Linked DNA regions of Homo sapiens: all the other regions are linked to region 1. The links are contacts of gene promoters, found by promoter capture Hi-C in blood cells and fetal thymus (Javierre and others, 2016). All regions are on one chromosome and are shown on one strand. The core of a region is centred on a gene start or on the middle of the fragment in contact, and the rest is flanking DNA. Distances in the headings are between cores, read along the strand shown.

Evidence for each region. The method cuts DNA at HindIII sites, captures the fragments that hold promoters and counts their contacts. A CHiCAGO score of 5 or more calls a contact.
Region 2: the fragment with the promoter of PLXNA3 here is called in contact with the fragment with the promoter of HCFC1-AS1 in region 1 in 9 of 17 cell types (total B cells, naive B cells, total CD8 T cells and 6 more); the score reaches 11.1 in total B cells.
Region 3: a fragment that was not itself captured here is called in contact with the fragment with the promoter of HCFC1-AS1 in region 1 in 6 of 17 cell types (naive CD4 T cells, non-activated CD4 T cells, monocytes and 3 more); the score reaches 8.7 in naive CD4 T cells.
Region 4: a fragment that was not itself captured here is called in contact with the fragment with the promoter of HCFC1-AS1 in region 1 in 1 of 17 cell types (naive B cells); the score reaches 5.8 in naive B cells.
Region 5: a contact is called between the fragment with the promoter of DUSP9 here and the fragment with the promoter of HCFC1-AS1 in region 1, in 4 of 17 cell types (naive B cells, total B cells, total CD4 T cells and 1 more). The highest score is 7.3, in naive B cells.

Annotation. Positions count from the first base shown.
Region 1 is chrX:153,967,329-153,970,122 of GRCh38, forward strand. It overlaps HCFC1-AS1 (HCFC1 antisense RNA 1), which reads left to right and starts at 1,437. Exons shown (of 3, transcript NR_046608.3): 1 at 1,437-1,742; 2 at 1,871-2,043; 3 at 2,457-2,763. The region is part of intron 1 of HCFC1 (host cell factor C1); the gene reads right to left. RefSeq lists a silencer at 1,896-2,074. The HindIII fragment of the contact is 6,911 bases long and covers 947-2,794 here.
Region 2 is chrX:154,456,928-154,459,721 of GRCh38, forward strand. PLXNA3 (plexin A3) reads left to right here and starts at 1,354. Exons shown (of 33, transcript NM_017514.5): 1 at 1,354-1,501. RefSeq lists enhancers at 762-831, 2,257-2,794 and silencers at 922-1,091, 1,222-1,461, 1,702-1,771. The HindIII fragment of the contact is 19,869 bases long and covers 1-2,794 here.
Region 3 is chrX:154,355,545-154,358,338 of GRCh38, forward strand. FLNA (filamin A) reads right to left here. Exons shown (of 48, transcript NM_001110556.2): 28 at 2,655-2,794; 29 at 1,890-2,079; 30 at 1,707-1,730. Among named protein-coding and RNA genes, the nearest start is that of FLNA, 18 kb to the right of the region's middle. The HindIII fragment of the contact is 1,643 bases long and covers 724-2,366 here.
Region 4 is chrX:153,587,521-153,590,314 of GRCh38, forward strand. CCNQ (cyclin Q) reads right to left here. Exons shown (of 5, transcript NM_152274.5): 5 at 405-934. The coding sequence ends at 845. Among named protein-coding and RNA genes, the nearest start is that of CCNQ, 10 kb to the right of the region's middle. The HindIII fragment of the contact is 4,721 bases long and covers 1-2,794 here.
Region 5 is chrX:153,645,854-153,648,647 of GRCh38, forward strand. DUSP9 (dual specificity phosphatase 9) reads left to right here and starts at 1,350. Exons shown (of 4, transcript NM_001318503.2): 1 at 1,350-1,572; 2 at 2,066-2,473. The coding sequence starts at 2,101. The HindIII fragment of the contact is 18,543 bases long and covers 1-2,794 here.

The DNA.
Region 1 (2,794 bases), core at 187-2,686:
CCTCTCCTGAGCAAGGCTGTGCCCCGGCCTCTCTGTGTTTCATCAGCTCCCCCAACCACTTCATGCTCTGCAAGCTCCATCCCTGGTTGCCACTGTCCCATCACCACCTAGAGACTGGTGCCCATGCAGTGAGGTGGCCGGTCAAGTTCAACGAGCTGCCTTCCTCTCTGTTCTACCTGTCACATTAGAGCATTTCCTGTGTGGCATACGACGTGCTGGGAGGCACAGAGGACACCGATCTTGTGCTCATACTCCCAATGGGGTAGGAAGGCTGCATGCCCCCCTCCCACGATGAGACAAACACCCTAGAAGAGCTCTGACCAAGCCGGGCCCTTGGGAGCACAGAGCAGTGCGACTGCTGGAGAGGGGAGGACAGGAGTGGAAAGGGCTTCTCAGAAGAGGTGACGTTTCAGCCGGGCCTTGAAGGGTGAACAGGATTTCCCGACAAATGAAACTAGCAGGGCCAATCAGGAAGTGACTGCAAGAGTCTAGTAAGAGGAGAGGAGGGCTTGGTGTGGAAGGGGACACATTTGATGCCTGCCCAACGCAATGAACAATTAGATACAGGGACAGAGGAGAGAATGGAGGCATTTCAAAGGTGATGGGCCCCAAAGACAGGTGGCAGAACGGCCTCTATGAAGGTTTGCACTCCCGCCCAACTCCGCCACCAGCTGGGAGGGCGACCCTGGACCTGTCACTTCCCCTCTTGGACCCCAATTTCCTCATCTGCAGAAACAAGGAAGTAGTTCCACTAGGTATTTTCCAAGGCTCCCTCCAGCTCCAAGAACCTATGGACATTACAGAGCCACCGTAGCCAAAGCTCTCGCTCCCCCACCCCCCACACCTGGCAGCACTCTGAATCCTTTGGCTTGCCACATGGAACTAAAATTCCCTAAGGACAAGCACAGTAGCTACCCTAAGAGCTCTCAAAGCACACACCCCCTGAAGCTTTCTTATCCTAGCAACGGGAACCCCTTCCAGATCAGCTCTCTCCAAAGGTACAAGGCTTTTTGAGGACTGATCCCGCAGAACTGCAAGGGGCACAGGCGTGAGAATATGCCCTGATCTCATCCCAAACACAACAAAAGAAGACAAGACAAAGGTGACGAGGCCGGGCTGGCGGGAGGGGGCAGAAACCCCGGTGAGGAAGAGGGCTTCAGGTCTGCCAGCTGCTCTCTCGTCTGAGGAATTGCCGATGACAGTTTCCAAACTGCTACCCTGGAGGATCCCAGAGCTTCATTTTAAGCAGCCCTTTGGAAGGCAGGCTACCCCTCTAATGCACAACCTGTCTTTGCAGACTGGTAATGAATTCATGCCAAAGTGGTCAATTCATTTTAATAAACTAATGAATATGCAGAGGCCCCAGGAAGCCAAGGCAGCAGTGGTGGTGGACTCTGGAGCCGACTGTAATTAGGCCCCTGCCCTACTTTCTAAAATTGCATTTCCCTGCCAGGGAGCCTGCTCCAGGCCTTATGAGAAGAAAGTCGGTCCACAGAGTGGAGAAGGTGCTGCTCATGGTGACGGTGCCTCTATAAACAGCCCCACCACTGGAGAAGCCTTAGCTTACTGAGCTAATTCCTGCTACTGCAGCTGCCTGGGCTGGCGCGGGGCACCACCAACCACCAAGCGCCCCCGCCCGGGGGCTGCTGAGAAAGGCCCTGCTCCCTGGAGGCAACAGGTGCTGAGAGACCTGGAACGAAAAACGGTCACAGACAACCCACCAGCCTTTCAAAGTCAACGTGGTAGGTGGCGATAATCTCCGAGATGTGGAGAAACCAGCACTTTCTGCCTTGGGGGGTGGGGAAGGAAGCGGCACCCAAGAGCCCAGCTCCAGCCTTCCCAACTCCCTAAACCAACTTTCTCCCTCCAGGCAGCTCCAGCTTCCCACCCCCAGAGCATCGAGGCACTGGAGCTCAGCCAAAGAACAGCAGCCTCTCACCGCTCAGGACACAAAGCCCACTCAGCGAGGGTTTGTCTGCAGGGCCACCACCGAGGCCAGGGGATCGCTAGAGCCCCCAGGAGAGAACGGCCGCGGAGCAAGGGGTTAGTGCTGGGAGCCGTGCCTGCCACTCAGGACTAGGGCATCCCAAGGCCCTCCCCCAGCCGCCTGCAGGGGGCTTTTCCCTCACCCAGACTCTTCCAGCTCTTGCCTGGGACCGAACTCACCCTGACCCTGCCTTCTGGGCAAGGCCAGGGTCCTGTGGGCCAACGGGCAGTCAGTAGGCAACTTGGGAACTGACCCTTGTGCTAGGGGCACAAAACGGGCCAAGTAGCCACCAAGAAAAAGGATGCCACAAAGCTGTCGTGGACAGCAGCAGGCTTTCTGCCCTAGAGACTAAGCAAGGCTACTAGGCAGAGGCAACAACAAACGGCCCCCACGAAGGCCGTGGTGCATCAGCCATACCTGAAGAGAGAGGTTCCTCCCCTTCCCAACTAACGGGCTTTGGGTTTTGCAGGGAGGCAGAAGAGCGGGTGGGGTAACCCCCTGGATCCGCAGAAGCGGGGAGACACACGACTACGCAGGCCGCTGAGGGGTAACTGGAATTCAGCTTGTAAACCAGAAGGCACCAGATTAGGAGAAGGGGCGACTTGGAAAGAAATGCTGCAGAAGTAAACGTGGAAAGGGAGAGGCGGCCCTGCCGCCGGCCCGTCCTAGGGGTCCCCAAGGCTCCGGCATTACCCGGGTCGGCGGATGTTAAACTCTGCGTCCTAAGAGCGCTTCCCTTCCCTCCCTTTTTCGAGAGACAGAGAACGAATCTGTAATCTAGAAATGGTCATTTCTCCAGAATGGGCA
Region 2 (2,794 bases), core at 104-2,603, 490 kb after region 1:
TTCTCCTGCTTCAGCCTCCTGAGTAGCTGGGACTACAGGCATATGACACCATGTCCGGCTAATTTTTGTATTTTTTGTAGAGATGGGGTTTTGCCATGTTGGCCAGGCTGGTCTCGAACTCCTGACCTCAGGTGATCCGCTCACTTCAGCCTTCCAAAATGCTGGGATTACAGGCTTGAGTCACTGCACCCAGCATATGCCAGTACTTTGGAAGGCTGAGGCAGGAGGATTACTTAAGCCCAGGAGTTCAAGACTAGCCTGGGCAGTGTAGCAAGACCCTGTCTCTCTCTACAAGAATAGGAAAAGTTAGCCAGGCGTGGTGGCACTTGCCTGTGGTCCCAGCTACCTGGGAGGCTGAGGCAGGAGGATCCCTTGAGCCCAGGAAGTCGAGGCTGCAGTGAGCCATGATCCAATGCCGCTACACTGCAGCCTGGGTGATAGAGCGCGACCTCAACTTGGGGGGAAAAATCTGTCTATCTATCTATCTCTCCATATATGTGTTTAATAAAAATGGGCAAATGACTTGAATAGACATTTCTTCAGAGATCATATACAAAAGGCCAGCAAGCACATGAAAAGATGCTGAACACCATTAGTCATCAGGGAAATGAAAAAGAAAACCTTAACGGGGCGCGGTGGCTCACACCTGTAGTCCCAGCACTTTGGGAGGCTGAGGCGGGAGCATCGTTTGAGCCTGGGGCGGTCGAGGCTGCAGTGAGCTATGATCTCACCACTGCACTCCAGCCCGGGTGACAGAGCGAGACCCTGTGTCAAAAGAAAACAAAAAAAGAAAAGGAAAAAGAAAGCAAGGGAAGGAAGAAAGCCCTCGGTTCAGGGTCGCCGGGGAAGGGGCTGGTTTGGACGGCTGTCCCGCAGGCCCTCCGGGTTAGAGACCGTCGGGGGCGTGTCTTGAGCTGGGGACGCGACTCCTCGGCGGGGGTGCACCTGAGAGGCCGGGACCAGCGAGGCCGCGCCCCGGTGGCAGGTGACCCCGGGCGCGTCTCCGAGCGCCAGGGTGGGGCGAGGCGGACGCGCGCCCCAGGCCCGAGGGGGTGTGGCGCGGGCGCGCGCGGGTTCCGGGGTCGCCCGAGGCGGCGGGCGGGGAGCCGGGGCGCGGGGGAGGCGCGCGCCGCGGACGCGGCCATCGAGCGAAGGGGGTCGGCTGGCCGGGCGGGTCCCCCTTCAGGTCGCGGGGGTCAGGGCTGCGCGCGAGGTCCCTGGCCCCGGGGAGCAGCGGCCCCGCCTGCGTCCCCTGCCGCCGCGTCCCCCTCGGCCGGGCGTCCCCGGACGCCCCCGCCCCGCGCGGTGGTACGGTCCGGGTTTAAAAGGCTCCGGCGGCCCCCGGGCCAGCCCAGTGTGTGGGCGGCGGCGGCGGCGGCTGCGCGCTTGGGGCCCGGGGCGCGGGGCGAGGCCGTGGGGACGTGCGAGCGGGGCCGCGGTGGGGCTCGGGGGCGCGTCCACGTGGCCAGAGGGCGGCCACCCGGAGCCAGCGGAGGGACAGGTAGGTGGCCGTCATCGTCGCCGTCCGTGCGGGGCCAAACAGCTCGGGGCCCGGGGCTCCGGCAGCCCGGGGGTCCGGCTCGGCCTGTGGGGGTCAGGCCCTATCCCTGCCCGTCGGCGCCGGCCTGCCCGACTCCTTGTGCCCCGCATGGTGGGGACGCCAACCCAAGACCAACACCCTGCCCAAAGAGGACCCTTTGTCGCAGGGGAGCGGCCCCTCGGAGGATCAACGCTGTACTTCCCTCCCGCTAAGGGCTCCGCGAGTCCGCCGAGGGGTGCCCTGATGGGGCCCGGGCAAACCGGACCAGCAGCACGGTGGGGGGTGTGGGGGGCGGCCGCTGGACCCCCGTCTCTGCGTGGGGCTGCCCCTTCCTCAGGCTCTCTGCTGGCCCAGCTGTACCTGTGATGCCCGAGGTTGCCACTTACAGGTGGGGGCTGGGCCTGAAACTGCCTCCCCAGGTCTCCCTCCCGACCTGTCCCCAGCCTGTTCCTAGGCTTGTGTTCCCGGGGTGTAGAGGAGGTGAAGACAGGATGTGGCCTCTCTTTTCTTTGGCCTTCCTTTCTTCTCCGGCTGTTGCATGAGGGGTCCAGCTGACAAAAGAGCCCTGGAGAGGTGATCAATCTGAGCTGAAACTTTGCAGTTTCAAGCTGGGCCCGCTGCTTGTTCCTGGCAAATGCCTTATTTTTCCTTTCTCTCTCCTGTGCCTCCTTGGTTTGGTTCCCTGCACCACCCCCCGCTCCCCCCCCGCCTCCCGCCCTCAAGCTGGGTACCTCCTATCTCCCCCGGGAGCTCTGGCACTGAGAGGGTAGCGCTGAGCCCTGCCCTGTTGGCTGCCACGACACTGCTCTGCTGTCTTAGCAGCCTGGGGCTGACTGGGTGTGGCCTGGGGACTAAGTGCCAGTCCCAGCACTGTCCCTGTGGCTCCTGCCCTGTCTCTCCAAGGCCTTGACTGTATTTGGGGACATTGCTCCTCCTCTTGTAAGGCTCCTGGGACTCCAAAGGGCAGGTAGGGCCCCCTGTACATTCCCTTCTCCAGTGAACCCCTGGGTCTGGAGGGGGAGCCATGCAGGCTGTGGCTGAGCAGAGCTTGACTGATGTGTGTCTGGGTGCGTGGCTGAGGGGCAGGCGCGACTTGGCTTTGTGTTGCATCGGGGAGGCCAGACAGCGGGCTCCTGGATGGCCAGCTGAGGCCCTTGTCGGGGAGGCAGCTGGGGCCCCTGCAGGGGACATGGTGGTGCTGGATCCTGCATCAGGCCTCCATTCCCCAGACCTCTGTCCCAGGGCTCCTGGTGG
Region 3 (2,794 bases), core at 295-2,794, 390 kb after region 1:
CCCCCCAGGCCTGATGGTGAAACCGGAGTTTCCTGACAACTGAGAAGGCTCGCGGTGAAAAGCAGCCCGGTGCAGACAGGAGTGGGAGCGGGGAAGCGGGAGGCAGCGGGGTTAGCACCCGAGTAGCGCAGCGCAGCAGGCTTGGCAGAGCGGGGATAGCACCCAGGGAGACAGGGAACAGGAGGCCCAAGCTACAGCCACCACTGCTGGGTTGCGAGGGCAGAGCAGCTGAGCAGGCTCCAGGGCCCCAGAGTGCCCGAGGAAAGGGGAGAGACAGTGACGTTATGATCTGGGTCTCCGCCGTGGAGGCTTGGGGGGCTGTGGGCTGTGAGGCCTGGCAGTGAGAGTGCCCCCTGCAGCCTGGCCTCCTGCCAGGGAAGCAGCCAGGAGCACGAAACCTACTTGAAGGCCAAGCTCGAGGGGCCCTGCCACCAAGTCCCACTATCGGCCGAGGGCTCCTGCTGCACTAGGCTCCATGCTGGCCTGCCGCGGCCAGGCAGCTCTCCCAGGCTCCAGACCTGGCTGCCGGCTGCCCACGCTGCCCTGGGAGGCTTCACTCATGTGCACCCCATGCCATCTAGTTAGTGGCTTGGGCCCCAACCTCACAGGTACCCGACTGCCCCCACTTTCCCTGCCCGGCTCCCAGCCAACCGCAGGTCTCAGCCACTCCATCCTCAAAGTATGCCTCCTAATTTGGCTCTCACTGAAGCCCCGTGGCCGTCAAGCTTGCCAGAGAGCAACTTCAGCGCCCCCTTCCCCACCCCGGGCTCCCTGTCTCCATTCTGCAAACAGTAGCCAGGGAAACTGAGGTTACTGAGTCTTGCTCCCACCCTCAAAGCCCCCAAGGCCCTGCAATCAGTACTCCCCAGCCTCCCCCGCCCTGCGCACACACGCCTGTCACACACACATCGGATCCTACGGCCTGCTCTATAAAGCCATCTCGCTCCTGCCGCAAAACTCTAGCCACCCTCTCACCCTTTCCTTAGCCACCTCGCCCAAGTGCCAGGCCTGTAGCCTCTCATCAGCATCCCTGGGTGTCCCTGGCTGGGGCAGGTGACCCTCCATGCCTGTTGGGGAATGTCTGAATAACGTCACTGCTGGGGGATAGGGGAAGGGGGAAGGAGGGAGACGGGCCACAGAATGCACTTTGGGGCTCTGAGGCTGGGCCGGGCCCCGCCATGCTGGCCGCCCAAGCAGTCGACACTGGCGCTACTGCACTACCAGCCAGCCCCACCCGCTCATGCACCTCCCCCGGCCCGGGACGCAGAGGCCCCTGGAAGGTGGGGATGGGGGTCTGTGGATCTGGCCAGGGCTGGGGCTCCCATTGAGTTGGGGAGACCCCTTGTTCCCTCAGCCCACGCAGGAGCCCTTGTGCCTCCCTGGGTGCCAAGATCCCGAGACCCCAAAGTCCCCAGTGGGGTGCCTCTCAGGATGCACCTCACCCCAAAGCTCTCAGCTGCAACCCGAGTTCTCAGATGGGGAAATAAAGGCCCAGAGAGGGGAAGAGCTGGAGCGGTCATGCTCAGCTCCGGAAGCCTCCCTGGGCCCTCGCCCTCCAGCCCACGGCCTCATCTTCTGCACCCCACCCAACTCTGTCCCTGCCTAGAGCTGCAGCTGGAACTGTCCTGGGAATCGGCCCCAAGAGGAAAGGAAGCTGCCCCTCTGGGCAGGAGGGGCATTGGGAGTGGCCCCAGCAAGCAGCTTACCTAGCCCGTGACCTCCGATTGACACTGAGGTGAGAGGGCAGAGAGCAAGGAGAAAGGTCAGGTGAGTCACTCAAGGGGGCGGCCCCCACTCCCACACGCCGCCCCAAGCAGCGAGCCCTTGCACACAGGCACAACCCAAGCCCCGTGCCGAGCGCCGCAGCGGCCAACAGCGGGCGGGCTCACCTGTGACAGTGCACTTGCTGGCGTCCCCGGTGGGCACGGCACGCACGCGGTACGGGGAGAAGGGGATCTCGTCACCACCGTACTTGATGAGGATGGTGTAGCGACCTGTCACGTCTGGCACGTAGGCCACTGTATACGTGCCGTCATGGTTGTCTTGGATGTGTGTCTTCTTCGGCTTGCCTTCGGGATCCTGTGTGGCAGAGGCAGGGGAGGCAGTTGGCCCAAGCCCGAGTAGCCCCGGGCCTGCCTCAGGCGCTCCCAGAGTGCCCAGCGCTGCTGCTACAGGGACAGTCTCTGGGCCTCAGGCATCTTAACTGCTATGGCCCAAAAGGGCTGCCTGCACCTGGCAGAGTCCAGAATGGAGACTAAAACATCCCACACTTCCCACATGACAACAGGCGCGGCCAGCCAGCTTGGCACCCATCCTCAGCCCCAGGGCCTGGCCAGCACTAGGAGGAGCTCACCGGGGTGATCTCAAGCTTCTATCCTATACCTGCCCCATGAGAATATTACAGGTGGGGAAACTGAGGCACAGAAGGCTTTGGTGACGTGCTCAAAGTTAGCAGCAAGTGCACGTCTGGGGAAGCCTGTGCCTGTCACCACCATCCTAAGGTAGTCACAACCTTAGCAAACCAAAGACAGGGGCCCTGTCCTTCCCTGCCCTCCTTGGTGCAGCTCCGCAGGGAGATCAGACACCAGCCACCCGCAGCCCACACTCCAGCCGCCCAGGCCCCCCTGCCTCCCCTGCCTGTGCCCGGAGCTCACCGTGATCTGGACAGCCAGCAGGCCCTCCCCGGCGTCCTTTGCATCGATGGTGAACTCCACGGGCAGGCTGGCAGGCACGCCAGTGGTGTTGAGCCCGGGGCCACTGGCCTTCACCTTGCTGGCATCATGAGTAGGCAGCA
Region 4 (2,794 bases), core at 100-2,599, 380 kb before region 1:
GGAGCCCACCCTCCTGTGTAAACCTACCAGTCCCCCGGCCCTACGCCACGTGCTGAACGTACGTCTAGCCTGAAAGGGGACCTAGAGAGCGCCTCCTGGACTGGTCTATTTCTTACCCACTGGCTTTTGAGCAAGGAGTCAGAGGGGTGCTGGGGGCCACAGCTCTGAGTTTCTCCAGCCTCCCCATCCAGACTGGCTACCTTGACATTTAAAAACGCATTACTTTTAGTTACGTTCGATCAGGACTCACTTTTCTGAATGCAAGTGATCCTCCCTAACCCCAGGCCTGCCGCCTGATGGCTGGGACACACTCTACCTGAGAGCACTCTGAGGGAACCAGTCTCTGAGGGCCCCTCACACCCCCATGTGCAGCATGCGCTGCAGAGCAAAGCCAAGGGTCCCTATTGACTTGTATCACCTTTTATTACACAAAATAGATTTCAGCCACGTTGCACATTCATTCTCCCTACAAATCTGGCTTTTAAGAAATCCGTAGGGATTCAGTCTCATCGATTTCATGACTTTCCTTTCATTGATGTCATGCCTGTATTGTAGTCAAAGTCCTCTCAAAGGACAAACGCAGATGTGGCTGCCTTGGGTCAGCTGCACACAGTACACTCCCGGCCTGCCCGCTGGAGGCGCGGCTCCCACCATCACCTGCACCGCGACTTCTAGGGACTGGCAAAGCGGCAGCATGCCATTGCCTTCTCCAGCCCTTCTCCAGCAGCACAACCAGTCCTCCCAGCTGGTCCTGTGGGGACCAGCCGTCATGGCGACGTGGTGACAATGTCCCCAGGCAGCCGACCATCCTGGGCTTCTCTTTGGGCAGGCCTGGGCCAGGACCTTAGGGGATCTCTGTGTCCATGGTATAAATCTGAATGAGATCAGACACAATATTATCAATGATTGGCTTGGTAAGGTCGTCATTAAACACCTAGAAAGAAGAAGGAAAACAGGTTCCAGTTAGACTCCCTCTATGTTAAACAAGGCACCTGTCACTAAGCAGAGAATCACATTTCATGGGCAGGGGAGGGGCACAGGGACTTGGCTATGTAGGAAGACAGTAGCTCTCCTGCAAAGCCAGTTTAATTCCAGCCCGTTGAGGCCAAACACTTTACAAGGCCGAGAACATTCCAGATGGAACAGGCCTTGGTGATCTTCTGACTCAGAGAGGAGGGGACCTGTCCAACGTCATACAGGGAATTGGTAACACAGCTGGGTCCAGAGCACAGGCTCCTGCCTCCTGCCCGGGACTCCCTCAGGTCCAGGGTCTCTGCGGACACTGGCAAGAGGAGAGGGTGGCAGTCCCTGTGCAGCCACAGGCAGGCTAAGTACCCGGACCCCACGCCTACCCTAACCCAGCCCCTGGGGAGCATGTGGACCCACTCCACAGTCCGGACCGCCACGTGCAGGAGCACTCGCAAGACGGCGAAGGACATCCTCGGGGCCCATGGCAGGAGGGTTGCAGCCCAGGGCCACGCCACAGGCTGGGGTCCACACCCTGTACCTTCCAAAGGCAGGTCTGGCCTCTGCCTGGCTCCTGGAGGATAACCTCTAGGCCCCTAGAAAATCCTGCCCCGTGTGAGCGTCTTGGTTTACTGGACTGCCAGGCGGTCTGTGCTAACCACATCATTTATGGTGAGGGCCTTGGGCCACAGAGTCCCAGCCAGATCTCTGGTGGCTGCAGCCCAAGTGACCAGGGTTGGCCACGCAGGCGCTCCATGCCCATGCAGCCCACCACCTCCCACGGAAACCCTGGCCGCCATGGCTGGGATGAGCTTCCCGGTTGTGACTCCGTGCTCGCTGTCCCACACTGTTGCCGAAAGAAACAGGTGCCGTCTGCACAACTCCCCTGGGCGAGGAGCCGCTGAAGCTCACGCCTGGTCTCTCCTGGAGCCCGCCCTGTGCGCCCTGAGCCTTCGCTCACGGTAACCTGTGTCCTTTCCTTGTAATAAACCGGAACTGGGAGTGTGACAGCTTTTCTGAGTTCCGAGCCCTCCCGGCACAGCACTGAGCCCCAGGGTGCTCTTCGGGATCCCCAATGATAAGGGAAATAGTAAGTAAAGCAGCAAGACCTTGGTCAGATGCTGCGTCTGTAGCCACCCTGTGCCAGAGCTTGCTGCCTGGGGAACCAATGTACCAATCAGATCAAGGCCTTGGGCCAAGTCAAGGCAAGAACTGGACCTACGTCCACCCCTGCTGAATGCTCCCAAAGAACCCTAGGTTCCTCTGTGGCCTACAACCTCAGGTAGGAGATGGTGACCTGGACGCCCTCCAAGTCCTGACTCAGGAAGCATAGCTGTCTTACCCTGGGCTCTGGGTGAAAAACAAATACTTCAGAAATGCACACTTGCTTGCTGGGGTCCATGACCTGTGTGCTCCTGGAGACCCCAAGCTCAGAAGCAATCATTAAAAAACATTCAGGGGCTGGGCATAGTGGCTCACGCTTGTAATCCCAGCACTTTGGGAGGCCGAGGCGGGTGGATCACTGGAGGTCACGAGTTCAAGATCAGCCTGGCCAACATGGTGAAACCCCGTCTCTACTAAAAATACAAAAATTAGCCAGGTGTGGTGGCAGGCACTTGTAATCCCAGTTACTTAGGAGACTGAGGCAGGACAATCACTTGAACCAAGGAGGTGGAGGCTGTAGTAAGCTGAGATTGCGCCACTGTACTCCAGCCTGGGCAATAGAGTGAGACTCTGTCTCTATTAAAAAAAAAAAAAAAAAAAAAAAAAAGCAAGGCCAAAACGTGGAAGCAGCCTGCATCCATCGATGGATGAATATGTTAATATC
Region 5 (2,794 bases), core at 100-2,599, 320 kb before region 1:
TGTTCTCAAAAATGAGAACATTTCTAATGCAGTAGGTGGGAAGTGTTACCTCGTTGGTCATTGTTACTTGTTTATTGGAGTGGCTTTCCTTCCACGCCTGAAGTTGAACCTTCCCCCAAATATTTGTTAGGCCACCGCATTCCCTCCTTCCTGCAGTATGCAGTGTTTTCAGGTTCTTTGCCCATTTATCTACAGGGGTCTTAACCTTTTAGTTGGGTATGAGCTTTATCTTATCTGGCGTACATTTTCCTTCAACACTGTTATTTGCTTTTGTTGAGCTTTAAGCAGAGAAGGGACTTTTAGCCAGATCAGCATTGTGGACACCTCCCCCTGACCCTGGTCTCCTGCCTCAGTGCTCACCACACCTGAGACCTTGTCCAGTGCTCTTGCTGCCTGTGGATCTGTCCCGCCTGTTGTGCCCATGGAGGAAAGGATGGAGGCCACCAGCCTTGGTTGAGTGGATGGCATTCTGACGTTGGGCAGGGCTGGGCAGGGCAGGGTGGAGGGCAGGTCGTTGCAGGCCCGGAGGCAGGGAGACTGTTGTGCAAGACGTGACAGTGACCTGGCCTAAAGCTGATGAATTTGAGCCCTCGGCTAGGGCAAGGGACAGGGGAGAGAGGCGTGGATGTGAGAGATATTTAGGTAGAAACTAGTTCTTTCCACTTTGATTAGCCGAAGGGGGGTTAAGGGAAGGAGGCAGAGGGGGGAGCCACGGGTGACTCTTAGGATCAGTAATGTGATAAGAGCAGAGTGCCCCAGTTTAGGGCTGGGAGCTCAGGGTTCCTGGGTGCTTTTGGCCAGTCCTGTGCGAGTGAAGCGGGCTGGTATTGGTAGGTATCCAGGAGCTACCCCTGCCTGCCTAGCCCTGCAGCAGACCTCTGGGCCAAAGCTGCACTAAGTTTCTGGTCCTGCCTCCTCCTCCCCTCCGTGATTTCGGTGGCATCCCAAGTTTGCCCAAGCTGCTAGCTCTGAGCCCATTACAGAGATGGGGCCACTGAGATCCAGGCAGGGGAGAAGATGCTCCAGTATCACCCTGTGAGTTGGGCTGGAGGCAGCTTCTGCGGCAGAGGGGCTGGGCTCTGGTCCTCACCCCTCCCCCTGCCTCCCGAGGCCAGGCTGGCGCCGGCCAGGGGAGCCGCAGCTGGTCCCCTGCTGGGCCCCTGACCTGCCCTTGGCCTCTGCCCCGACCCCGTCCCGCCTCGGTGGAAGCCCCAGCTCAGCCGACTCGCAGGTCCCACCCGACTGCTTCGGCTAGCACCCGTTGGCTCACCGGCCCGCCGGGCCCGCCCCCGGAGCCCCGCCCCGGCCCGCCCCTCGGAGTTGTAACTCCACGTCCGAAGGCAGTTTCCAAGGTGGAAGCTGGGTCCGGCTGCCAGGAAGCGGCCGGTGCGCGGGCTGCGCGGGCTGCGCGGGGCTCGGCTTCCACGTGCGAGCCTGCACCGCCGCCCCGCCCTCTCCTGGCGGCCAGGCCTGGGGACTCTCTGCCGCGGGACGGCGCCTCGCGTTCCGCCGTGGCAGTGGCCGTGGCCAGAACGTCCACGCGCGGTCGTCCACCGCCGGATCTCGCTCCAGGTCTCTTTCCTTTTGTTCTCTCCTAGGGGTAGGGGGAGATGGGGGACCGGGGGCCAGACCACCTCTGAGAGGACTCGCTGAGGCCCAGCACCTCGGCGCCTCCTCTGTTCCCCTGGCCCACCTGGCCCTGGGGGAGATCTAGGCCTCGAACGGCACTCCTCGCACGCACACCCCCAGCCAGAGTCGGAAGCTCGAACTTGGGGAGCGTTCGCGAGAAGACCGAGACAGGAGCAGAAAGGGGGTATGGAGGGAGGCGGCTGCGACCTCAGGGTACCCCAAGATGAGCCTCGAAGGGGCGGTTAGCCGCTCAGCCCTCTTCTCGAGGACCCTTCCCCGGGCCGAGCTGCTGCCTGGGGGGTTTCTTGGGGCGCCTTGTTGGGAGTCCTCATGGTGGGGGACCCTGGGCTCCCGCCTTCAGGACGCGGGGCCGGCTTCAAGTCTGAGCCCCCTCGGCCCTCCGGTAGCTCACACCGCGCCTTCTCTCTCTTCGCAGCGCCCGTGGTCCAGCGTGTAGGGAGCCGATCGCCCATGGAGGGTCTGGGCCGCTCGTGCCTGTGGCTGCGTCGGGAGCTGTCGCCCCCGCGGCCGCGGCTCCTGCTCCTGGACTGCCGCAGCCGCGAGCTGTACGAGTCGGCGCGCATCGGTGGGGCGCTGAGCGTGGCCCTGCCGGCGCTCCTGCTGCGCCGCCTGCGGAGGGGCAGCCTGTCGGTGCGCGCGCTCCTGCCTGGGCCGCCGCTGCAGCCGCCCCCGCCTGCCCCCGTGCTCCTGTACGACCAGGGCGGGGGCCGGCGCCGGCGCGGGGAGGCCGAGGCCGAGGCCGAGGAGTGGGAGGCCGAGTCGGTGCTGGGCACCCTGCTGCAGAAGCTGCGAGAGGAAGGCTACCTGGCCTACTACCTCCAGGGTAGGTGCCGCGGGGCCCTCCTTCCAGGGGGTTCGGGATTCATTTGACCTTAGGCCAGCCCCACTTCTTTTTTTCTAAAGCGAGTTGAGGCCCCCCTCCCCTGATGACCTGCCAGGCTGCTTTGAGAGGAGGGAAGCCTGAGTGTGACCGTGGGGAAGTTCTTCACCCTCGGCAGCCCAGTCTCTGAGCCTGGAAAATGGGGAGAATTAGCCTGACCTGAGCTAGTTCTCAGGATGCTCAAGAACGAATTACAAAGTGCGGGCTCCCCAGGGTCTCGGCAAGGGTATCCCCACCTCCCCAACCTGCTCAGGAATGAGCAAG